Linked DNA regions of Homo sapiens: regions 2, 3, 4 and 5 are each linked to region 1. Evidence: promoter capture Hi-C in human tissues and cell types (Jung and others, 2019). All regions are on one chromosome and are shown on one strand. The core of a region is centred on a gene start or on the middle of the fragment in contact, and the rest is flanking DNA. Distances in the headings are between cores, read along the strand shown.

The links. The method cuts DNA at HindIII sites, captures the fragments that hold promoters and counts their contacts. A contact is called where the count stands out against the background at its distance.
Region 2: a fragment that was not itself captured here is called in contact with the fragment with the promoter of ADIPOR2 in region 1 in 1 of the 25 tissues and cell types used here (aorta).
Region 3: a fragment that was not itself captured here is called in contact with the fragment with the promoter of ADIPOR2 in region 1 in 1 of the 25 tissues and cell types used here (lymphoblastoid cells).
Region 4: a contact is called between a fragment that was not itself captured here and the fragment with the promoter of ADIPOR2 in region 1, in 1 of the 25 tissues and cell types used here (spleen).
Region 5: a fragment that was not itself captured here is called in contact with the fragment with the promoter of ADIPOR2 in region 1 in 4 of the 25 tissues and cell types used here (IMR-90 fibroblasts, aorta, hippocampus and 1 more).

Annotation. Positions count from the first base shown.
Region 1 is chr12:1,689,755-1,692,404 of GRCh38, forward strand. It overlaps ADIPOR2 (adiponectin receptor 2), which reads left to right and starts at 1,316. Exons shown (of 8, transcript NM_024551.3): 1 at 1,316-1,437. RefSeq lists enhancers at 819-978, 999-1,048, 1,132-1,710 and silencers at 1,209-1,508, 1,529-1,618. The HindIII fragment of the contact is 10,259 bases long and covers 1-2,493 here.
Region 2 is chr12:1,343,263-1,345,912 of GRCh38, forward strand. The region is part of intron 15 of ERC1 (ELKS/RAB6-interacting/CAST family member 1); the gene reads left to right. Among named protein-coding and RNA genes, the nearest start is that of LINC00942, 160 kb to the right of the region's middle. The HindIII fragment of the contact is 3,540 bases long and covers 1-2,650 here.
Region 3 is chr12:2,013,987-2,016,636 of GRCh38, forward strand. It overlaps a transcript of CACNA1C not described here. Among named protein-coding and RNA genes, the nearest start is that of CACNA1C-IT1, 1.4 kb to the right of the region's middle. The HindIII fragment of the contact is 3,786 bases long and covers 1-2,650 here.
Region 4 is chr12:1,989,542-1,992,191 of GRCh38, forward strand. All of the region lies in intron 3 of DCP1B (decapping mRNA 1B), which reads right to left. It also overlaps a transcript of CACNA1C not described here. Among named protein-coding and RNA genes, the nearest start is that of DCP1B, 14 kb to the right of the region's middle. The HindIII fragment of the contact is 7,991 bases long and covers 1-2,650 here.
Region 5 is chr12:1,953,416-1,956,065 of GRCh38, forward strand. DCP1B (decapping mRNA 1B) reads right to left here. Exons shown (of 9, transcript NM_152640.5): 6 at 2,017-2,145. Among named protein-coding and RNA genes, the nearest start is that of LINC00940, 18 kb to the left of the region's middle. RefSeq lists an enhancer at 642-1,841. The HindIII fragment of the contact is 3,737 bases long and covers 1-2,650 here.

The DNA of each region.
Region 1 (2,650 bases), core at 66-2,565:
AAGTCATTATTATTATGTCTTTCACAAATTATGTAAACTTAAAAAAATTATATTTTCAATGTAAACCACTCCTTGGAGGAAATTAGTTCCTTTAACATTTATTTCCTAATTTTAATTTCTACTAGTTTTATCTCTTTCAAGCTTAAATGAGTGGGCCTTAGTTCTGTATTATTGCCATCTTAATCATGTTCTTTGTGATTTTAGTAGCTTTACTTTTTAAAACTTACATTTCCATAATGAAGACTTCTGTATTTTTGTTTTTTTCGTCATATATCCGACTCCAGCTCCCTCAAGACCTGTCAGCTTTTCCCTGCACCCTTTGTTATCTCTTGCTGTGGTCCAAAGGTAAGGACAGTAAGCCGTGGGCACAGACTTTCCCTAAATCGTATGGATTTCCTTTAGTCAATAACAAGAATTTTGATAGTTAAGGCATTTACGCCTTAAGAATGTGATAAATTCCCCCTCCTACTGAATGTAAAGAACTATTTTTCTACGCAGACTAACTCTTATATTCACTTTTCTTATAGAATAAGTACGTAACCAAATCTGTTCTTGGCTTCTAAGAAGTTAGAACTCAACGTAAAGATGACTTGTGGAAAATTACTTACTCATTCTGGGTAAATGGACGCAGGTATTTAGTGCTTAAGTAGGTTCTGATATACCATTACATTAACATCATTTTAAAAATCGCTCTGAATTATATGTATTTTAAGAGTGACTGGGTTTTAAAAAAAATAGAAGTGGTAGAGCATAAATCATAATCTTTAATAAGGTAATAAAAGGCAAACACTATTGCTCTGGGCAAAACTGGGCTAATGCTTTTGGATTTCTTTCCGCAGTCTTCACAGACGACGCTCAGCATCCTATCAGCCCTTGGCAGAGACACACGATCCAGCCTAAATCCTCAAATTCTGGCTCTTGCCCAAAGTGTGTAGCCAGTATCCATAGAGACTGCGAAAAGCATCCGCGAGCCGGGGCGGCCCCCTCCTCCTCAGCTCCAAATTGCTTCCTTTTTCGGTGGGAGAAAAAACTCCGAGGAGTTGTGTGAGCGCCTAAGGAGCGCACGCTCCTCCGGCCCTCAACACCCAGTATAGTTTTCGCTAAGTTCCTGGCCGAACCACAGCTCCCACGATGCACCCAGGTTTTAGAGCGGTCAGAGGGGCGGCTTCCGGTTTAGGACAGCGCGGCTGCGCACGGCGTGTGGTCTTATTGGCTCGAACCGCCTCGTGCGATGCGCGTCACGGCGACGTGCGGTCGTGGGGGCGGGGAGACGCGGCGGCGGCGGTCGCTGTCGCGGCGGCGAGAGCGCGATTCCAGAAGCGGCATCGCGGCGGCGGCAGCGGCGGCGGCTACACCGGGCTTGGCCCCCTCCCTCCTCCGTTCCCCCCTCCTCCCCCCTCCCCTCAGCGGTGGCTCCCAAGAAGTCCGAGACACGCGGTGAGGCGGCGACGGGCTCCGGGTGAGGGTCTCTGGAGTGTGGGCGCCGTTTCCTGGGCGCAGAGGGAGAGCTTGGGGTCGGGGGGAGGTGAGAGCTGAGGGGCGAATGTCCCTGGCGCGGGCGGGAGAGCGCGCTCTCGGCCCGGCCCGCAACTTGATTCCTAACTCTGACCTGCCGCCCGGCGCGCCTTGGCCTGAGGGTCGGCCGTGTGGGGACCTGGAGCCGCCCTCCTTGCGACCGCTGTCGGAGGAGTCCGGCGCCCGCTGTTCCCCTCGCCTCGCCTTTCGCGGCGGAGGGTCGGAGCCTGCTGCCCTCTGCTCACCTTCGGGTGCAGTTGCTCCAGCTCCCTGCCCGCGGAGAGGATCTGCCCGCCCCTCTTCGTCTCTTGTCTGTTTTTATCACTTCTAGGAATTTGTTTGGTGGAGGCTTGGGATGGGCTCTCTCAGCGCTACTTTCACAGTGACTGGGGTGGGGAAGAGTTCCCTCACCTTTTTCAGGTGGCGCGTCAGGCAGCCTGCTTGGTACCTGGAGTCCTGTTTTCCCAAGCCCCCGTCCGTCAGTGTTCGCTTCTTCTAAAATTACCGATGACAGGGTTATAAATCAGTTTTTAGGGGGCTCGGAGAGAGTTTGGGTTGGAAACTGTTAGCTCTTTTTTCCTCCTGGCTTTTGATCTTGATTTAAGCGTTTGCCTCTGAAATTTTGACAACTTCATAAGATGGTCCAAAAGTGAATTTTGGTAGAAAGATTTAAATGCACAGTTGGGATTTTATGGGGGTACGGTGACTTCATTGCAGGTTGTTGACTTTTTTTTTAAAATAAGATGTTCTTTTAATTTTTTGACTCTGGGTTTCTGAGCCTTGGTTATTGTCCCCCATTTCTGTTCCAAAAGCAGACTTTTTTTTTTTTTATCACCCCTTCCCCTCACCCAGAGAATCCCTTTAAACGCCAAGAAAGCTGTCATAACATTTAGCATTATTTGATCACAGAACTTTTCCAAATGAAATGCTAAAAATTCCTTCAGAAAAAAGCATCCATCTACCCATAGCATTATTTTTTGGGGGGAGGCTATACGTCTTGTCAGTTCTGAAAGTTTGAAGTGACCTCTTATCAAAGGCCACCCTTATGTCTCCTTAAACGACTCTTAGGTAATTCCTAGATGTTTTCATCCGTTCTGATAAATTTGTTGTCAGAGTGTTGATTGTGATGATCTGC
Region 2 (2,650 bases), core at 58-2,557, 350 kb before region 1:
AGGGAGTGCCATTCGTCCCAACTAGTATTTTCCCCCCTTTTATCTGTGTCACTAATGCTAAATTAGTTCATGGGTCATTCAAATTCTAGCAGCTTTGGTGTTAGTCTTTATATTTCAGTTCCAGTGCTCCGCTGATTATTTTGGCATGAAACTATCCCATACAGTCATCATGCTGCTTTTAATTCAAAAGATTCCTATGAGCTGCACCAGGAATATCGTATCTAGTACAAAAACTGTATGTCTGTTCTTCCCTGAAGCAGATTCTCTTGTAACTTGAGTTTAGTTATCTTAGTATTGATATTGAGTTATTTTTAGAGAGTTCTGTGGTGGTTAGTGGCTCGGTGTTTTCATCAGTCGTTCACTTAACTATCCTTTCGGAACATCTGTGCCACTTACGCTGTCTCACTTCTCACCCAAGTCTTAGATGCTTTTTCATTCTTCATATTACTAGGAAAGATTAAACACATCATATAATGCCAGTGACTGCAGGACTTTCCTTTAAAGCTTCTAAACTACCTGCCAGTATGCTGAAATAAGGTATATTCTGAAGCTTATCGTTTAAATTGTAGATTTCATATGTAAAAACATTTTTTTTTTTTAAGACAGTCTTGCTCTGTCACCCAGGCTGGAGTGCAGTGGCGCGATCTCCGCTCACTGTAAGCTCCGCCTTTCAGGTTCACACCATTCTCCTGCCTCAGTGTCCCGTGTAGCTGGGACTACAGGCACCCACCACTGCACCCGGCTAATTTTTTGTATTTTTAGTAGAGACGGGGTTTCACCGTGTTAGCCAGGATGGTCTCGATCTCCTGACCTCGTGATCCCCCCACTTCGGCCTCCCAAAGTGCTGGGATTACAGGCGTGAGCCACCGCGCCCAGCCTGTAAAAACATTTTCATCTTTGTTTATAAATAAAACATCTGATTATACAACAATACTTTTATGGGACTCAAAGAGGGGAGTCAGGGTTGGGGTGGGGTCTGTCATTTATTTACTTATTTTTAAAAGATACCTGGCCTGGTTCTGTGGCGGTGGCTTTTCTTCGCTAATCATGAGCTGTACTTTGAGTATGCAGTAGATTCCGTCAGCATCTCAGTGGGAGAAAGGGGGGAAAGAGGGGTTTTAACACAGTGTTCTCTTTGCATTGAGTGAAGAAGCTGTTGATCTCTGAAGGAGGAAAGGAGAGACTGGAACCACATGAAGGCTTGTGCTGTGAAACCCTGAAACCCTGACGGTGCCTTTTGATCACTGTGTTTTAACAAAGCTGACAATCCTCAGCCACACAAATCTTGGGAACTAAAATAAGTATTCATTTAACTCTTGACTAAAGGTTAAAAGATACAGTTAAAAAGAAATCTAAAACCCAGAGTGGTAATTCCACTTTTTCTTTCTCTTTCTGTTGTTGGAACCTGAGCTCTCTAGGAAAACTAACATTTGTTAAGGGCCTGCCATGTGCCAGATTCCTGTCTGTAAGAGAGGTATAATTATTATTTTACACTATCTCAATCTTAATAACAACTCCGTTAAGTTTACACATTTATATTTCCATTTGACAGTTAAAATCAAGGAAGTTCAGGAAGCTGCTTGTCTAGGGTCATACAACTAGTAAGCGGCACTGTCCAGCTCCAGAACACATGCTTTTTCTTGTGTATTTTAGTGCTCCTTCAGTCACTTATATGATTTACTTATTTGTTATTCTTTTATAAATTTAAGCAGTAGTACAAAGTAGAAAGAATAAAGAAAAAAACAGCCCCCAAGTCAATTGCCTAGAAAATAATCATTATTTGTAGTAGGTAAGCAGGATTCCTGTCATATTCCTATGCACATATAGAAAAAAATTAACATATAACATGCCATTTTAAATAAAAATTGAATTTAATTTTACTTGACATTAGCAGAATAAAGAGAATTTCAGTAGAATATTTCTTCTTTTTTTTTTTGAGACGGAGTCTCACTCTGTCGCCCAGGCTGGAGTGCAGTGGCGTGATCTGGGCTCACTGCAAGCTCCACCTCCTGGGTTCACGCCATTCTCCTGCCTCAGCCTCCCGAGTAGCTGGGACTACAGGTGCCCACCACCACACCCGGCTAATTTTTGTTCTATTTTTTAGTAGAAATGGGATTTCACCGTGTTAGCCAGGATGGTCTCAATCTCCTGATCTCGTGATCTGCCCGCCTCGGCCTCCCAAAGTGCTGGGATTACAGGCGTGAGCCACCACGCCTGGCCAGAATATTTCTTTACTATAAAGGAGAATTCCTAAGCCATCCTTCCAAGTTTAAGAAAAGAGATAGAGATTGGGGTTATGTTTTACAACAGCATCTTTTATTTTTATTTTAATCAGTATTAATTCATGCCATGCTCTAAAAGATGAAGAAATTATCACTTCTTCTCACCAGTTTTTAATGATATAGTTTTATATCAGCTTTACCAAGGTTTATAATATTTACATCTTATTTTATAACTCCCAGGCTACTTAGTCTGGGAGTTAAATTCAGCACTTAACACCTTTTGCCACATTTTCCCTATCCCTGAATTTTTTGCTGTATCGTTTTGCTTATTTAATTTTATCTTCACTTGACTATTTCAGGAAAGACTGATGCTGAATTCTGGTTTTCTTGTTTTATGTTTGCATGCTTGATAGTGTTTATTTGCCATT
Region 3 (2,650 bases), core at 105-2,604, 320 kb after region 1:
ATTTGAAGATTAAAGGGAAGGGTGTTTTCCACATTTCCTGTTGGTAATAAATAGCCCTCTCCCAGTGCTTTGACCTTCCCCTGCTGCTATGGAGACTCCTAGGAGCAGTGACCAGGACTGCAGCCAGCCAGGCCCGTGTTATTAACAGGGCTGGCTCCGTGGGCCTTCAGTATTAGTGTATTTATAAACAACCCCAAACACTGAAACCACTGTTTGGTTTTGTTCGCTTTTATTAAAAATTATATGGACTTTAGAAGAAAACAACAAACTGTCAGAAAAATAGGCATCTTTTTTTTTTTTAACCCAAATAAGCCTGTGTTTAGTCTATAATGGGAGAGTTCTTATAATAAGCATAGCAACTCATGGCTCAGCACTTTCCCATGGAGTAGGTAGCAAGTATTGCTTATTCGCTTATGAGATAACCTTTACATTTAATCACTTGTCCATTCAATGAATATTTATGAAGCTCTTACCATGAGACAGGCACCGGGCTAGGAGCTGGGAATATTGCAGTGAACAAGACAGGCACATTCCCTGCCTTCCTAGAACTTAGAGTCTCACGGGGAAAATGGACACATAAGCAGGTAATCAAAATAAAGTGCGTTGAGTGTGAAAAGTTTGGGATGCTATGGGAGCATGGCAGAGGCCCAAGAGAGGCTCCAGTTTCTTTACATGAATTGCCAAGTGTATCGACCTGAAGACACTGTACCTCCTGTCTTTGTGCCTAGACCAGGGTAGAATGGTCCTAAGAGTTAGAGGCTGGTCTCAGTTATTCTTGGACATAAGACTTTTCTGGTTGGCTTGAGCTTTAGGCCTTACAGAGGAGCCAGAGACTTGTCTGGGTAGTGCCATAGGTGTCATGCTAAAGCCACCTTGTCCCCACTGGCCTTGGAGCTAGTCAGACTCAGAGCCTCCCAAGAGCACTGGGAATGGGAGCAATCCCTTCCTGCTCACGGACTGGCAGGTCTTGGCCCAGGGATTCACCTATGCAAATAGTATATCCTTGAGCCACCAGTAGTTTTTACCTGCTCAGCTTTCTCCTGTTCTCCTTCTTGGAGTTTCCTTTCCCAAGAAAACAGACTGGATCTTCTGCTTCTCCAAACCCATCCCTCTGAGGCAGGGCTGAGAAGACCATGTTGCTCTATGAAAGGGCTAGTTTACCAGTCAGGGGACTCTGCTTCTGTACTCTCTCTCCCTTTACCTGGTGCCGAAAGACCATCCTCAATTAGGGCTGACAAGGGGCACCCGTTGGGCTACATTTATCCTCCTTATTCTTAAGAAGCTACAGCTTTTACTTGCTGTACAGCATCTAACAAAATAAGACTGTGTTAGCTTATCCCAGCCCCAAGTTTTCTGTAGTGGAGGCTGAAAACTTCAGGGGAAAGCTGTCTGGAGTCAGATGTGGAGAGTCTAGGAGTCCCCTGTTTGCCAGGGCCTAAGGTGGGAAGTGGAGCAAGGGCAGGGATAATTTGTAGGCATTCAAGCTAGAATTATTGCCAAGATAGGTGGCTTCAGCCACCTCTTTGTACAGAAGAGACTGAAGCACAGAGAAGTGGCTTTTGGGAGGATACAATGGCATAGAGTAGAGAGAGCCTAGGGCGAAAGTTCTCAACCCTGGCCACACTTTAAAATTGCTGGAAGGCATTTAAAAAGAAGCCCCATGGCCAGGGCTCATCCAGAGGAGTTAATAGGATTCTGAAGTTGGGCCCTGGTCAGTCTCAAAGTGATTCAAACAGCAGGCAGAATGGAGAACCACTGGACAGCCTGGTTGGCAGCCTCTGCACTTCCTGGGTTCAGATCTCTCTCAGCTAGTATGGTACTTGGGCAGTTCACCTGTCCTAGGTAAACCTCAGCTTCCTTCTCAATAAAATGAGGTTGCTAATCATATCTATTTGGTAAGATTATTTTTGAGGATTAAACAAGAAAATACAAATAAAGTACCTGGGACATATCAAGCACTTAATAAATACAAATCACTGACTTTGTTATTTGGTAATGACAGAACAGGACTAGACTTCAGGTCTCCGATTTCCAGGCAATGCTCTTTCTACCAGGAGGATTTATCAAGGCTTATAATGACCAATTCAGTGGGAAATGGGGTGCTCCATCTTTAAAATAATTACCTTTATTCAAAAAGACATGAATGACTTCATTTCTTAGTTCGGTGTCTCCTGGTTGAAATCATTCATATATTTGTTCATTTGTTTGTTCTTTGATTTGACAAACATTTCCTGAGTGTCTTATTAGGTGCCAAGTACTTATCAGGTCCCGAGTACTGTCAAACAACAGTACTCAGTACAACAAAATACATCAGTACAACAAAATAAATACAGACCCTGCCTTCCAGGAGCTTAAAGTTTAATGGAGGAGATACACTAAAACTAACTATTGTACAATGTATCAATGTATTGATTGTGACAATGGGTTTGTTTAAAACATTTTTCTTTTTCTTTTTTTTTTGAGACGAAGTTTTACTCTTGTTGCCCAGGCTGGAGTGCAATGGCACGATTTTGGCTCACTGCAACCTCCTCCTCCCGGGGTCAAGCAATTCTCCTGCCTCAGCCTCTCGAGTAGTTGGGATTACAGGTGCTGCCACCACGCCTGGCTAATTTTTTGTATTTTTAGTAGAGACAGGGTTTCACCATGTTGG
Region 4 (2,650 bases), core at 105-2,604, 300 kb after region 1:
TGTCTCTACTAAAAACACAAAAATCAGCCAGGCATGGTGCCATACACCTATAATCCCAGCTACTCAGAGGCTGAGGCAGGAGAATTGCTTGAACTTGGGAGGTGGAGGCTGCAATAAGCCGAGATTGTGCCACTGCACTCCAGCCTGGACAAATAGAGCAAGACTCCGTCTCAATTGAAAAAGCAAGAAAAGAAAGGAATCCCCATGTCATTGCTGTCTATAACTTAAGTATTATATTTGGGAAAATATATTTCCATATGCTAATATCTTATTTAGTTGCGAAATGAAAAACACAGTAAGTGATTACTATATGGGAATATTACAAAAGAAGTGGTCTAATTCAGCTTTTTGTTAAATTAGTTTTTAATCTGGTAAAAACTAATCTCTCTAATAACTGATATATGCTTGAATCTCAAGGCTAAAAAAACTTGCTTTTTAAACCTTGGAGCGTACTCTAAAATAACTAAGTGTTTGTAAATGATAAACTTGGCTCAAATGCATTATTTACTGCTAGTACTTCACTGCTTGGGCCTTGGGTCTCGAAGTTAAGGTTTCTTGGTTCAAGTGGTGTTTCCATCTCAAAATAGTCATGGACCACAGCGTATCACTTAATCCCTTTAACCTTAGTATTCTCATTTATAAAACAGGAATAACAGTATTTTCAAGAAAAAGTTATGGGATAACCCATATAAAACCTGAACATAGTGTTTGGCAGACAGTAAATGTTTGTTGAATAAATGAATGAATGAAATGTTTGCCCTAACTTTAACAGCTATCTTACTTACTTTTAAAGTTCATACAGGTCAAACCCCATTTTAACAATGTTTAAACCCTTTAAACAATGTATAAACCCTTTTCTGTAATAAAGTAATCTATTTTGTGTTTGAATGAAGTTACTCTATTTATCAAGCATCTTTTTTTGGCTGATTAAATGAAGAGAGTTTGGGATTTTCATTTCTTTATTTTGCTCTTCTACATTCATCCAATTCAAGAAAGGGATTTTTTTTTTCTCTCCTAATGAATCTAAAAAACCTCACCACAAACCTCTATCAATTCTACCTTTGTCTATTTGAAATGCCCAAATATGGCCTATGACATACATAAGCCAATGTGAAATGCAAAGACCAGACAGAGAGATTCTTGACTATACAGAATATCTTGAGGAAATAGTCTTACAAAAACAATCCTGAGTAAAGCTGAGTTCCTTGCCCAAAGAAAGGCCAACCAATCTATATGCCACCAAAGAACATGTAAACCATACATAATTATTATATAACATATTTGAATTCTATTAAAACGTTTAAGAGGTATCTGACACTCTGACAGCACCTGTGGTAAACCCTTCTGTGTACCTTTGATGCCCGGGATTGAAAAGGCTTTTGCAAACAACATAAAACCAAATGACTCTGGGTGCAAAGGCAATCAGTATCAGATAGAAAGGACAAAAAAAAAAAAAAGGCAAAATGAATCCAGAAAAGTAAATAGATCCATTCCCTTTCACTCTTTGTTGTTCAACTGATTCTATTTCTTTTGTATGGAAATTCATTAGAAACATTTTAATATGCATCCCAAAGGCTACCTTTAATTTGCATCCATGTTTAATAGTAGAGCAGTACAGGTGGTGTGGAAAAAGCAACGGAAGTGAAATCAGAATCTGTGGGTTTTTACACAGTCTGCCTCCTCACTGGAGTCTCAGTTTCCTCATCTGCAAAATGGCAATGAAAATGTCTACTCCACAAAATTGTGATTATTAAACATGGTAAAATAAATGAAAATCATTATAAAATACGGAAACATAAAATAAAATATGAAAAACAAATTAAAATAGAACAGTGCCATTCAATAGAAATATGAGGGGAACCACGAACGTGAGCCACATCTGTTATTTTAAATTAAAAAATACAAAGAAGCAAGTGAAATTAATAATATATTTTATTTTGCCCAATTTATCCAAAATATTGTCATTTCAACATGTTAATATAAAATAATTAATAATTGAGGTTTTTTCCTTTTTTTTTTGCACTGTCTGACAGTTGGTGCCTGTTGGACACTCACAGTGCAGCTCCGTTTAGACTAGCCACACTTCAGGTACTAAACGGCCACAGTAGTTAGTGACTATCATAGTGGACAGCACACGCTTAGAACCAAGGTGTATGTTTATTAGATCTAAATAGTATTTTCTATCAGATAAACCCTGTGGGACTTAAGAAGGTTATTTTTTAAATTGATGCATTAAAGAGAGTTTGTGTTTTTATATTTTTGGTATAGTAGTTAATATGTGATCTATAATAAGAATTTAAAATAAAATATTACCTATAACTGATCAGACCATGTATTTATCCAAAATAAAAGCAACCAAAAGTGATGATTACAGGTAACTTTGTAGTTATTTTATTAGGACTTAAATTATATATTAATTTGACATAAAATCTAATAATCTCAAAAAAAACCCTGACATAACTATAAGCACACAAAACAATTCAAACTATAAACAATTCAAACTGGCATTTCTGTAGAGAAGGAAAGGGTCCTGGAGTTGGAATTCCAAGTCTTTAGTAATAAACTACAATTGATAAAGTGTACCTTTCGGCAAAGAAACATGAGGAGAAAACACAATATTTTTCTATATTGCAAAACTTTTCATTTCACA
Region 5 (2,650 bases), core at 66-2,565, 260 kb after region 1:
AATAATAATAAACTTGAAAAATGAGATCCCCTTTTTAATGTCAAAAATTTTCACAGCATGCTCCCCTTGCACCCCCAAAACAGTTATTATATTTTAATATCTGTTGACCGATAAAACAGGTATAAGATCTTCAAGGGCCTGGGGTTTCACAGATTGGGAACCACCTTGGTAGGAAATTATATGCACTAAAAAAATAAACAATCTGTTCAATAGGAAGCCCATCTAAGCCTGCAGAGTAATATGAGAATACAAAGGAATATAAGCATTTCAGAATTTCTAGTAGTTTTTCACAGAATTATGGAAATCAAGGGCTGGAAAGAAACGGAAGACTTTAAATCTAACTTGATCCTTTCAAATATATACTGGTAGGATTTAAAAAGTCCTTGGATACATAAAATCTACCTTGGCCCAGCCAGTTACAAAGCTACTTCCTTCTTGCTCTTTACTTCTGTTGCTTTCTGCATTGTTGCACTGAGAAAACATGAGGCTAGGCACAGTGGCTCATGCCTGTAATTCCTGCACTTTGGGAGGCCAAGGCAGGCAGACTGCTTGAGCTAAGGAGTTCAAGACCAGCCTGGGCAACATGGCAAAACCCCATCTCTACAAAAAATACAGAAATTGCCAGATGTGGCAGCACACGCCTGTAGTCCCAGCTACTTGGGAGGCTGAGGTGGGAGGATTGCTTGAGCCCAGGAGACACAAGTTGCAGTGAGCTGAGATGGTGCCACTGCACTCCAGCCCGGGTAACAGGAATGAAATCTGTCTCAAAAAAAAAAATAAAAGAGGAAAGAAAAAAAACCACAAGCTTCATTTTAAAGTCAACATATTCAGGTCTCGCTATTAAAATATAATAAAAACTTTCCATAAAACAAGCAATAAAAAGAAAGCTAAAAAATTAGAAGACTTCTTTTCTTTAAAAATTCAATATAAGATTTTCATTACTAGTCTTTATGTCTTTTGGCTCCATGTTCATTTTCAAAATTGATATAAACTAATTCCTTTAAGAAAATCTTTTTAATTAGTCATAGTCATGATAAAATGACACAGCAATATTATATTTACAATCATTAATGGGACCTACAGATTGACAATTTTTGTCATTGCTGTACTATTCTGAAGTGTATATATATATATATATACACTAACACAAAAGCTGCTGTAATATTTCTAATTTAGATTGCAAAGACAGTGACAAGTCATCATATCTGAAGAGGAGTTTTATACCATTCCTTTGGACTCTGAGCTCTCGGCGGCAGCTACCCCAGTCTACAGTGCTAGCTCTGCATCTGGCACAGAGGAGGTGCTCAGAAGTGCTCAAATCAACTCTGTGTCCTTGGTGGTTCTCCCAGGTGGCCTTGGGAAGCCACCCACCCCAGAAGAATATGGACCCAATGGGTAATGTTTCTGTCATCTCTGACAATGTTATTAGTTTTCTAGGGTGCTTGTTTGTTTGTTTTTGTTTTCTGAGACATGGTCTTGCTTTCTTGCCCAGGCTGGAGTGCAGTGGCGCATTCCATAGCTCACCGTAACCTCAAACTCCTAAGCTCAAGGGATCCTCCCGCCTCAGCCTCCAGAGCAGCTAGCACTACAGGTGCACGCCATCATGCCTGGCTAATTTTCCTGTAGAGATGGAGTCTCACTGTGTTGCCCAGGCTGCTCTCAAACTTCTGGCCTCAAATGATCCTCTCGCCTCAGCCTCTCAAAGTGCTGGGATTACAGGCTTGAGCCACTGTGCTGGCTTGTTGTTTTTTAAAAAATACATTATCTTTTAAGGAGTTCAAGTTCACAAGAGATTAGCACAGAATGTGGTATATGCCAAAAGTAAAAACTTTAACCCTCTTCTAGGAAGAGTAAGTTATTAATAATGAAAAAATCTGTATTCTGAAATCCCGCTTTCTTGGGTTTACCTGAAAGCATTCTTCAACAACACCAGGCCCTCCCCTGACTATATTCTGGGTCAAAGTTCTTTAAGAATTCTAGAGACACACTGAATATGACAAGCAGAGAACTCCGTACCTGGTTGGGCTGAGGTATACGCTGTTGCTGGTTTTCACTGGGTTTCACTGGAATTGGTTTGATGAGATTTGGATTGTCATAGATGGCAGAGGAACTGGTTATCTTTTTTGGCTCAGAACAGGTTTTACACTGAAATAGAAAAGAAAATCCCCTCATTTTTGGCTTAGAAAAGCTTTAGTCTTTTTAAAAGACTACCTTTTTACTTCTTATCTAATTGGTAGACGGCTGTGTTTTTGATAGATTTTCATGCACAAAGGAAAATCCCTTAAATTTCTCTAAGAGCTATGTTTGAGTATAAATCAAGTTAAAATTTAATTTTTCTTAGTTGGACAATTCAGTGCTCTAAATATTACTAACAACACCAGCCTCCAGGACCAGGGGTTCTTAAGACACCTGTATAATTGAAAGGTTCTGTGCTTAATATATTGACTATACGTTTAAATATATATAGTCTAATGTCTTTCAATGATAAACAAATATAGAAACCATTCCTTAAATAACATGTCTGGACAATTTAAGCAGTTGACTTAAAATTGGAGAGTAGTTGAGTACATTTCATCAAAGTAACTAAATCTTTTTTGGTCTACAAACCAAAAAGCTGACTCAAACCACTGATTTAAAAATTACTAACATC